Regions from separate parts of the Homo sapiens genome. Here region 2 is linked to region 1. The links are contacts of gene promoters, found by promoter capture Hi-C in human tissues and cell types (Jung and others, 2019). All regions are on one chromosome and are shown on one strand. Each heading gives the region's core, a stretch centred on a gene start or on the middle of the fragment in contact. The rest is flanking DNA. Distances are from core to core; before and after follow the strand shown. Region 1 holds the start of SRGAP1 (SLIT-ROBO Rho GTPase activating protein 1). Region 2 has its middle 16 kb from the start of RXYLT1.

Region 1 (4,647 bases), core at 1,264-3,763:
CCAGTGCTTTGGGAGGCTGAGGTCGGAGGATTTTCTTTTTTTTTTTTTTTTTTTTTTTTGAGAAGGAGTCTCCCTCTGTCGCCCAGGCTGGAGTGCAGTGGTGCAATCTTGGCTCACTGCAACCTCCACCTCCTGGGTTCAAGCGATTCTCCTGCCTCCGCCTCCTGAGTAGCTGGGATTATAGGCACATGCCACCATGCCCGGCTAAGTTTTATATTTTTAGTAGAGATGGGGTTTCACCATGTTGGCCAGGCTGGTCTCGGACTCTTGACCTTGTGATCTGCCCACCTCGGCCTCCCAAAGTGCTGGGATTACTGGTGTAAACCACCGTGCCCAGCCAGAATCTTTTGAGGCCAGGAGTTTGAGACCAGCCTGGGCCATAGAGCAAGGCTTCATCTCTACAAAAAAGTAAAAATAATAAAAAAAAATTTAAAAGGCTGGCAAGGATGGATTTAAAGTACTTAACACAACACCTGAACCATGCAAAGATGGCAAGGTAAATTCTTCGTTATATTGTTCAAAAAGAGACTAGAGTTTGAGACCAGCCTGGACAACATAGGGAGACCCCCGTCTGTACTAAAATGAAAACAAACAAACAAATAAAATAAAAAGAGACTAGACACGATAGATCTTGTAAAAGGTATCTATTAAAAACGTGGCCGGGCGCCGTGGCTCACACCTGTAATCCTACCACTTTGGGAGGCCGAGGTGAGCGGATCACTTGAGGTCAGGAGTTCAAGACCAGCCTGACCAACATGGCAAAACCCTGTTTCTACTAAAGATACAAAAATTACCCAGGCACGGTGGCGGGCGCCTGTAGTCACACCTACTCTGGAGGCTGAGCCAGGAGAATCACTTGAACCCGGGAGGCGGAGGTTGCAGTGAGCGGAGCTCGTGCCCCTGCACTCCAGCCTGGGCGAGAGTGAGACCCCGTCTCAAAAAAAACCCCCAAAAAACAAAATCAAAAAACAAAAACAAAAACAACCGTAAAAGTACTAAGTGCAATGTAGTGTCCTGTGTTGGATCTTGGAACAGAAAAAATGACACTAGTCGAAAAAATTGGTAAAATTGGAATAAAATCTGGAGTTTAGTAAATAAATAAGCTAACAACGCCGTTAAGTGTGACGTGTTTCCATACCATCGCTTTCCTACCATCCTAGCTTCCCTATCTACTGTAGGAATAGAGGATATGGTGTTCAAGGTGGGTGTTTTTCTCCGCCTCGATTGAAGAGCTTCGCGCTCTTTGGATTAACAGCCAGGTCATTCACAATTCAGTGTTCAGTTTTTCTATTGGGGTCCAGCGTCTCGGAGTAACATCCCTTTGTGTCATGGATACATCCAACTCTGGACTTCCCCATTAGATTCTGGCAAAAGCCCCACCAGAGCCCCCGCCAGAGCCAGAAGGCGGTCCCTCAGGTCAGGAAGGGGTTTTCCTGCCGCCGGAGCCGCGACCTCGGCTAGCGGTGGAGCGGGGCTTCGGCGGAGGGAGGTGCGGGGCCTCGGCGGAGGGAGGTGCCGGGGGCGCCGCCCACGGCCTCCTGGGCTCGGCGCGCGGGGCCGGGCTGCGGTTGGCCACAAGAGGCATCCATCTTCCCGGACCAGCCAGGCGTTTCCTAGCGGAGCAGGGGCGGGAGCTTGGACGGAGAAGGGCACAGGCCGGAGCGCGGTCCGCTCCCGCGAGCCTGGCCCCGCCTGGCGGAGCCCCGAGGAGCCACCGCCCGCAGATCGCTAGCCGGGCGCCCGCGAGGCGCGAGCCGTGTGCGCACCCTCAACTTTGCTGCCGCCGGGGGCGCGGCTCCCGCGTGCGTGTGCGAGTGTGCCTGTCACTAGCGGCCTCCTGGGGGCAGCAGCGGAAAGGGGGACGCAGAGAAAGGCAGCCTCGGCGCACCGCGGCCAGGGAGGCAGAGGCCCCTCGCGGCGCCGGCTCTGGAGACCTAAACTCCGCCGGGGCTGTGCCCAGGGCGCGTCTGAGCGTCGCCGCCTTCACCCTCTCAGCAGCAGCGGGGACTCGCGTCAGGACTGCGATTCCTTTCGCCTGCCGAGCTGTAGCGGCAGTGTCTGCGGGCAGAGGAGCGGCGGCCGTGGCAGCAGCATCCCCAGCCCGGGCGGGACCCTTGAGCGCCGGAGCCGACAGCTGGAGGCAGGAAGGGAGGGTTGTGGCGCCCGAGCTGGGCGCGTTCCCAGCGCCTGCCCTCCGCCGCTGGCCCTGTCCCGGGCGCCCGGTGCGGGTCTCGAACAATGGTGCGGAGCGCCGGCGCGAGCCCCGCGCCCGCCCAGCGGCCGTAGAGGAAGTGGCCGGGCTCCCGGCGAGGTGGGCAGGGAGACGTCCCCCGCCACTCGCTGGCTGGAGTTTGCCTGCGCGTCCGGCCTCTCCCCCGGGGATCCCCTGGGATTACCGACGGAGCTCAATTTCGAGAGTATGGTGCCAGCGCCCGGGCTAATCTAGTCCTCTCTACTCGCTCTTTTTCCCCTCCTCCTCCTACTTCTCCTCTCCCTCCTCCCTTCCCTCGGGTCGGCGCTGCCTCTGGATTGCCTGCGTGTGGGAGTACAACTCTGCCTCTCCAAGGAGAACGGGTTGTGACCACTGAACAAAACTTGCCCATTGAAAGCAAACCCGGAACAGCTGGATAATGTCCACCCCGAGCCGATTCAAGAAGGACAAAGAGATCATAGCCGAGTATGAAAGTCAAGTCAAAGGTAAGGATGGGAGCGGCTGCCTTGCTCCTTTTGTGTGCCTTCTTGTCATTGTGCTCGTGGAGTTGCGTATCTAACTTGGTGTCTGCGTGGGAGGAAGGTGGTGAGGGGACAGCTCGAGCCCTGTCTGAGCCACCTGGGCTTCCTACAAGCCAGTTAGTTCCCAGTTGCAATCCCAGTCCCGTCAAACCCACGGGGAGCTGGAAACTGGGTGACTTCCCCCGCCAGCTGCCAGCCCGCATCTCTAATGGGGAGAGAACTGGCTTTAACTTAACCACCTTCAGCTGGGCAACTTATGTGGGAAGCAGGCAGCAGTGGAGGATCCTGTCCAGCTATTATTATCACCATCATTATTCTTTTTAAATGGTAGGATTGTCACTACGTAATTTTTTTACGGAATGATTTTTGTAAAGTCTGTGAACCCCAAGCGGTCTACAGCCTCATTGAGTGCAGGCTATTTCAGATATTTACACCACTCACCTATTTACACCGCTCACAATTTATTAGGGCGAGACCCCTTTTATTAAATAGCTCCCTAAAAGCCTGGCAGTTAAACGAAGCAGTGACTAGTGGAATCTGACTCTTCCTTTATAATGGGCCAGAATTCATTGCCATCTTTCACACTCACATGGGAATATTGCTTTATCATTTTCTGGAAGCCACTTGCATGTAAAATGAAGGTTTGAATATTTGAGTAGTAGTTTCAGTCCATTTACATTGTCAACTAATGAAGGAAACCTAATTAAGGCTGATTATTTTTACTTTCTATGCCTTGTGATTAAAAATATATATATTTTCTCTCCAATACAAGTATTTTGTTTTGTTACTGAAGTGTTTCGTAAACATATGTGTTACTTGAATTTTTTCCTCCTCTTTCCTGAGGTCTCAGGAGTAGCTTTCCTGATTGAGACAATGGATGGAATGTTGGGACCGCCACTGTTCTTTGACACATTCAATGCAAAGTTCATAAAGATTGCTATGTATACACCTGTGTTTATCTATGCACAGTCTTATGAAAGGGCTACGGAGAGAGGCATTACTGTACTTCCCTTGAGCAAGGGAGGAGCAGCCTGAGTGTTCTTTTGTGTGGTCAAGTTGTAAAAATGCCTGGAGTCCTGTGAGAGGACCTGGTGGAGAAATCCTGTATCATCCAGTGTGAATACAGACCAACTCATTGTGGACACTGCAGACACAATATGCAAGATAACTTAGGTTATCTTTAGGAGGACCCCTATAATGGAGTTATCTATAGGCTGACCCCTATAATGTGTTCAGGAGACACAGATTTTTGTCTGCTTGGAATTGTGATAATTTATACTTACAGGAACTTGTTTCATTGCTATGGAAGTTGTGTTAGCAGATAAGTAATTATTTTCTTAGAGCCAGGTAAACTTTCTAATGAGACTAACCTTTCTTTTTTCAGTGAGTCCAACATAGCCTAAAACCTTTCATTCCAGGGCAGTACTCTTGTTCACAACCACCATTTCTCTGTGCAGTTTTTCCACATGGCTCTTTGTGGCAGGTCTTCAAGGGGTGGCGGTCTGGTTTTTCTGCCGCCTAGAGCACTAATTGGCAAATGCACTTCCAAATGTTGATTTCTTTATGTTTGCTGTAAGGTCACTTGCCAGTGATCAAGTCCTTATTTGAAAATCAGCGAAATGGGATGTGTTGCAATGTGTCTATCAAATTCAAACGGAAGAAAAATCATGAACATGGTGAAAATCACATTTGGAGCTAAGTCTGTCCCACAGAGAATGACCTTCTCCCTATTTCCTTCAACACTTCTTCCTTCCACACACCCACGAGTCCCTAGGCTGCTTTAGGAGTCTTCACTGCACCTGCCCTGCCCTGAGTCCAGGCTTTACCTCCTCCTGCAGTACCTACACATCCAGTATCTAACCTAGATCACTACATCCATACACAAACATGGGAATAAGGGAATATCATGGAGTC
Region 2 (4,845 bases), core at 1,079-3,578, 80 kb before region 1:
CCACTTCCTAGCACTTGGTATTGTTTGGGATGGTTTTCAATTCATTAATTGTGGTTTTAATTTGCATTTCCCTAATGGCTAATGATGTTGAGCATCTTTCACATACTTATTTGCCATCTATATGTCTTATTCAATGACTGTTCAAATTACTTGCCCATTTTTTAATTGGCATTTGTTTTCTTATCATTGAATTTTGGGAGTTTTTTAAATATATTCTGGATACATTGTTTTATTATATCTATGATTTGTGAATTTTTTTCCCAGTCTGTAGCTTGTCTTATTCTCCTAATGGTGTCTTTTGCAGAGCAAATGTTTTTAATTTGTATGAAGCCCCATTTATCAATGTTTTTTGGAGATTATGCTTTTGATGTCATATCTAATAACTTTTTGCCAAACCCAAGGTCAACCAGATTTTCTTCTATATTTACTTCTAAAACCTTTATAATTTTACATTTAGATCTACAATCTACTTCAAGTTAACTTTGGTATAAGGTATAAAAATTAGGACTTTTTTGGATATGGATGTGCAATTATTCCAACATCATTTGTTGAAAGAAAATACTCTTCATTGAATTGCTTTTGCACCTTTGTCAAAGTCAATTAACTATCTCATTATGCACCTACTTTTGGGCTCTATTCTGTTTCACTGATCTACGGGCCTACTGTTTCACAAATATCATACTGCCTTGATTACTGTGACTTCATCAGAAGTCTTAAAATCAAATATGGTACTTCCTCAAACTTTTTTTTTCTTCAAAATTGTTTTGGCTATTACAGTTCCTTTGTCTTTTTATGTAACTTTAAAACAAGCTTGTCTGTTTCTACAGAATATCCTGCTTGGATTTTTATTTGAATTTATTAAAATCTATATATCAATTAGGGAATGATTGATATGTTAATTAAGTCTTTCAATCCATGAACAGAGTTATCACTCTTCATTTATTTATTTAGGTCTTTCATTTTTGTTTTGTTCTTTAGTGTTTTTTATTTTTATTTTTTCTTTGAGACAGGGTCTGGCTGTGTCACCAAGGCTGGAGTGCAATGACACAATCACAGCTCACTGCAACCTTAGCCTCCCAAACTCAAACCATCTCCCTATCTCAGCATCCTGAGTAGCCGGGACTACAGGCGTGCACCACTACGCTTGGCTAATTTTTGTATTTTTGGTAGAGACGGGGTTTCACCATGTTGCCCAGGCAGGTAGTGTTTTCTTTAGTGCTCAGCATACATATCCTGGATACTTTTAAGTTAGAGTTATACTTAAATTCTTTCTTTTTGAGGGGACAGGGAACTATTATAAATTGTATAGTTATTAATATTTTTTCCATTTACAACCATACATTGCTAGTGTATAGAAATATGGGACTGGCCACAGTGGCTTATACCTGTAATCCCAGCACTTTGGGAGGCCGAGATAAGAGGATCACTTGAGCCCAGGAGTTCGAGACCAGCCTGGGCAACAAAACAAGGCCCCCATCTCTTCAAAAAATTTTAAAAATTAGCTGGGCATAGTGGCATGCACCTGTAGTCCCAGCTACTCAGGAGGCTGGGGCAAGAAGATCATTTGAGCCCAGAAGTTCTTGGGTCCAGTGAGCTATGATCATGCCACTGCACTCTAGCCTGGGTGACAGAGTGAGATACTGTCAAGAAAGGAAAAAGAGAGACAGAGGGGAAAAGAAAGAAAGAAAGAAAGAGAGAAAGAAAGAAAGAAAGAAAGAAAGAAAGAAAGAAAGAAAGAAAGAAAGAAAGAAAGAGAGAAAGAAAGAGAAAGAAAGAAAGAAAGAAGGAAAAAGAAAGAAAGAAAGAAAGAAAAGAAAGAAAGTGAGAGAGAGAGAAAGAGACAGAAAGAGAAAGAGAAATAAAGAAAGAGAGAAAGAGAAAGGAAAAGAAAAGAAAAGGAAGGAAGGAAGGGGAAGGAAGGAAGGAGAAGGAGAAAGAAAGAAAGAAAGAAAGAAAGAAAGAAAGAAAGAAAGAAAGAAGCAGAAAGAAAGAAAGGAAGGAAGGAGAGAGAAAGAAAGAGAGAGGAAGGAAGGAAAAGAGAACAGAAAAGAAGAAAGGAGGAAAGGAAAGGAAAGAAGGAAAAGAAAAATGAGATGCCACATTTTGTAGTGAAACTTTTTCAGAGGAAAGTATAGAATGGTGATCAGACTCAAAACCACACCACTTAAAGCAATTGGAGAAATTTTAGCTCATACAGGAGACTCAGGGAGATAAAATAGACTATCATGGGTGGCTTCAAATATTTGAAATACTGTGAGTAACTTTACGAGTTATATATGTATTTTAGGAAGATAAAGTCCCAATGAAGTTTAACATTAATAGGAGATTAATAAGAAAATAAGAACTTCAACAACCTAATATTTTAAAAGATCAATCTGTCAAAAACTGAAACTCTCAGAAAATATGAGCTGTGAACATCTTGTCAGACTTTTCCATCAGAAATCAGTCAACAATTAAACAGCCTACACTAACGAATCTGTACTTATGCATTATTATTTATAAAGTCTTTCATATGGACTTGGTATTCTTCAAAAGGAATCTTAATGCTGGGAAGACAGAATCAGAAACTGTGAAGGGTCTGAGGTTTTACCTTACTTGTAAGCTAATAAATCAGCCTGCCACAGTTCCACAGATGCTGGCAGAAGACCCAAGACTCCTGGGTCAAAGACCAAGGCACAGCAAGTAGCCTAAGGATCATGTTTCATGCCAGTTCCCCTTGCCTCTACCTCTGCCAGGCAAGCCAGAGGGCTCCAAGTGGATGCTGCTCACGCAGTGGGTTTGCCTCACAGCTGAGGATCCTTGAGCTTGGGAAACCCAAATCTTTTATGATGGGCAGTAAGCCTGCTTGAACTTTTCGCCCCGAAGAAAATCATTCTTTATGATACTGGGCAGTAAATAACCTTGCTTTTTTTTCTCCAGAGGAAGACACTACCTCCATCTTCCAAGGCTCTTTGCTAACAAACATCCTTGAGAAAACAGTCCAGAACAAAGATGGCCCAACGCCTTTCCTCACAAGACATACAGAAACATGACAGACCCATGGAAAATTGTTGAAAGAGAAGAAGGAAGGAAAACAGGGAGGGAGGGAGGGAGGGAGGGAGGGAGGGAGGGAGGGAGGAAGGAAGGAAGGAAGGAAGGAAGGAACAAAAGAAGGAAGGAAGGGGAAAAAAGGATGAAAGGAAGGAAGGAAGGAAGGAAAGAAGGAAGGAAGGGGAAAAAAGGATGAAAGGAAGGAAGGAAGGGTTTACAGCAGTGGAAAGTTTTTATATACACATGCCAAAGGGAAAAAATTACCTCTAGAAATAAACATTGCCTAAATTGAACTTGTTCATATGTATAGAATAGAATTGATGTGAGACCAGACAGCAATATAGCACAGATCTGTTTATGTATCTGAACAGAAAAATAATAATAGAGAATAGGTTATTCAATGAATGGTTGCTGAAGATACATTTATCTTCAGCTCCATGAACAAGTTCAAACCAGATTATATTATCTCAGATATACACAGTAATAGGGGTCCCCCCTCCCTCTCTGGCTTTTGCAAAAAATGGCAATACAATTGTCCTAAAATCTTTGTAAGATCCAAGCTTGATTCTAAACAGCCTTTATACAGGCAAGACTGGGCATATTTTAAGGCCTGATGGAAATAAAACTAAAGAGATCTATTTAGGATGAAAAATGAGCAGAGGATAAAGGAGCTGTATATAAGCAGCACTGTTGACAATATTTTGCATAGTTAGTGGATACCATACCAGCAATATTGGCAGTGGCAAGAGACCCTTGGCACCAATATTAATATTAATATTAGTACCACTTGTATCAATATGGCAGGGAAGTGTCAGTGTAGACCTCTCCCAGCAGCAGTAATGAAGGCAACTTCACTGAGCTTTACCTAGGTGTTTCATACAGAAGACGAAGATGGCACCACGGCAAACCAAGGTGAAGGAGGAGGTGAATAACAAAGGCTACGGGGGAAGAGATATTTGTAGCAGGAATATCAAGGAGGAGACAAGCGTTCATGCAAAGTGATAGTGGCAGAGCCAAGAAATCTTTCTTTTTTAAAATTGTTATTATTAATTCACTTTGCCCACTTGATTGGTGTAACCTGAGAAACATGGTTTACTTATGAAAGAGTGACCTTGGCTAGGCATGTAGCTCACATTTATAATCGCAGCACTTTGGGAGGCTGAGGTGGGAGGACTGCATGAGCCCAGAAGCTCAAGACCAGCCTAAGCAACATAGAGAGACCCCATCTCTTAAAAAAAAAAATTTAACTAGCTGGACATGGTGGCACTTGCCTATAGTCCCAGCTACTCAAGAGGCTGAGGTGGGAGGATTGCCTGAGCCCAGGAAGTCAAGGCTGCAGTGAGCCATGATCACACCACTGCACTACAGCCTGGATAACAGAACAAGACCCGGTCTCAAAATTAAAATTAAAATTAAATTAAATTAAAAAATGACCTCACAAAAAAAAGAATTTAAAAAAAGGGACATCATTTGTGAACACAGGTATCCTTAATAACAAACCTAGAATCAACCTTATAACATTCTTTTTTTAACCTGCAAGCAAACATCTCCAATTCACAGATACATAAGCATACAATTTTTATGTGTAATATAATTTTTTAGTAATGTGTACATTTATATTAGCATATATCAGAAATCTCTAATATAAAGATAGTGGTATGCATGTGGTTAAAATTCTACCTACAGCTCCCTCCTCTGTTCACTTTCTTTAAATGCAGTTTTTAAAAACTGCATTTTGGAATAATTCATCTTGACAGTATTGTTTTATCCAAAAATTTTCAGTGATTTTTTTTTTGGACAGTGCCACCTTTATTA

The links. The method cuts DNA at HindIII sites, captures the fragments that hold promoters and counts their contacts. A contact is called where the count stands out against the background at its distance.
Region 2: a contact is called between a fragment that was not itself captured here and the fragment with the promoter of SRGAP1 in region 1, in 2 of the 25 tissues and cell types used here (heart left ventricle and mesendoderm cells).

What each region holds. Positions count from the first base shown.
Region 1 is chr12:63,842,187-63,846,833 of GRCh38, forward strand. It overlaps SRGAP1 (SLIT-ROBO Rho GTPase activating protein 1), which reads left to right and starts at 2,514. Exons shown (of 22, transcript NM_020762.4): 1 at 2,514-2,697. The coding sequence starts at 2,631. RefSeq lists silencers at 1,447-1,866, 1,927-1,986, 2,097-2,356 and enhancers at 1,519-2,020, 2,021-2,520. The HindIII fragment of the contact is 18,473 bases long and covers 1-4,647 here.
Region 2 is chr12:63,761,981-63,766,825 of GRCh38, forward strand. No RefSeq gene overlaps it. Among named protein-coding and RNA genes, the nearest start is that of RXYLT1, 16 kb to the right of the region's middle. The HindIII fragment of the contact is 5,556 bases long and covers 1-4,845 here.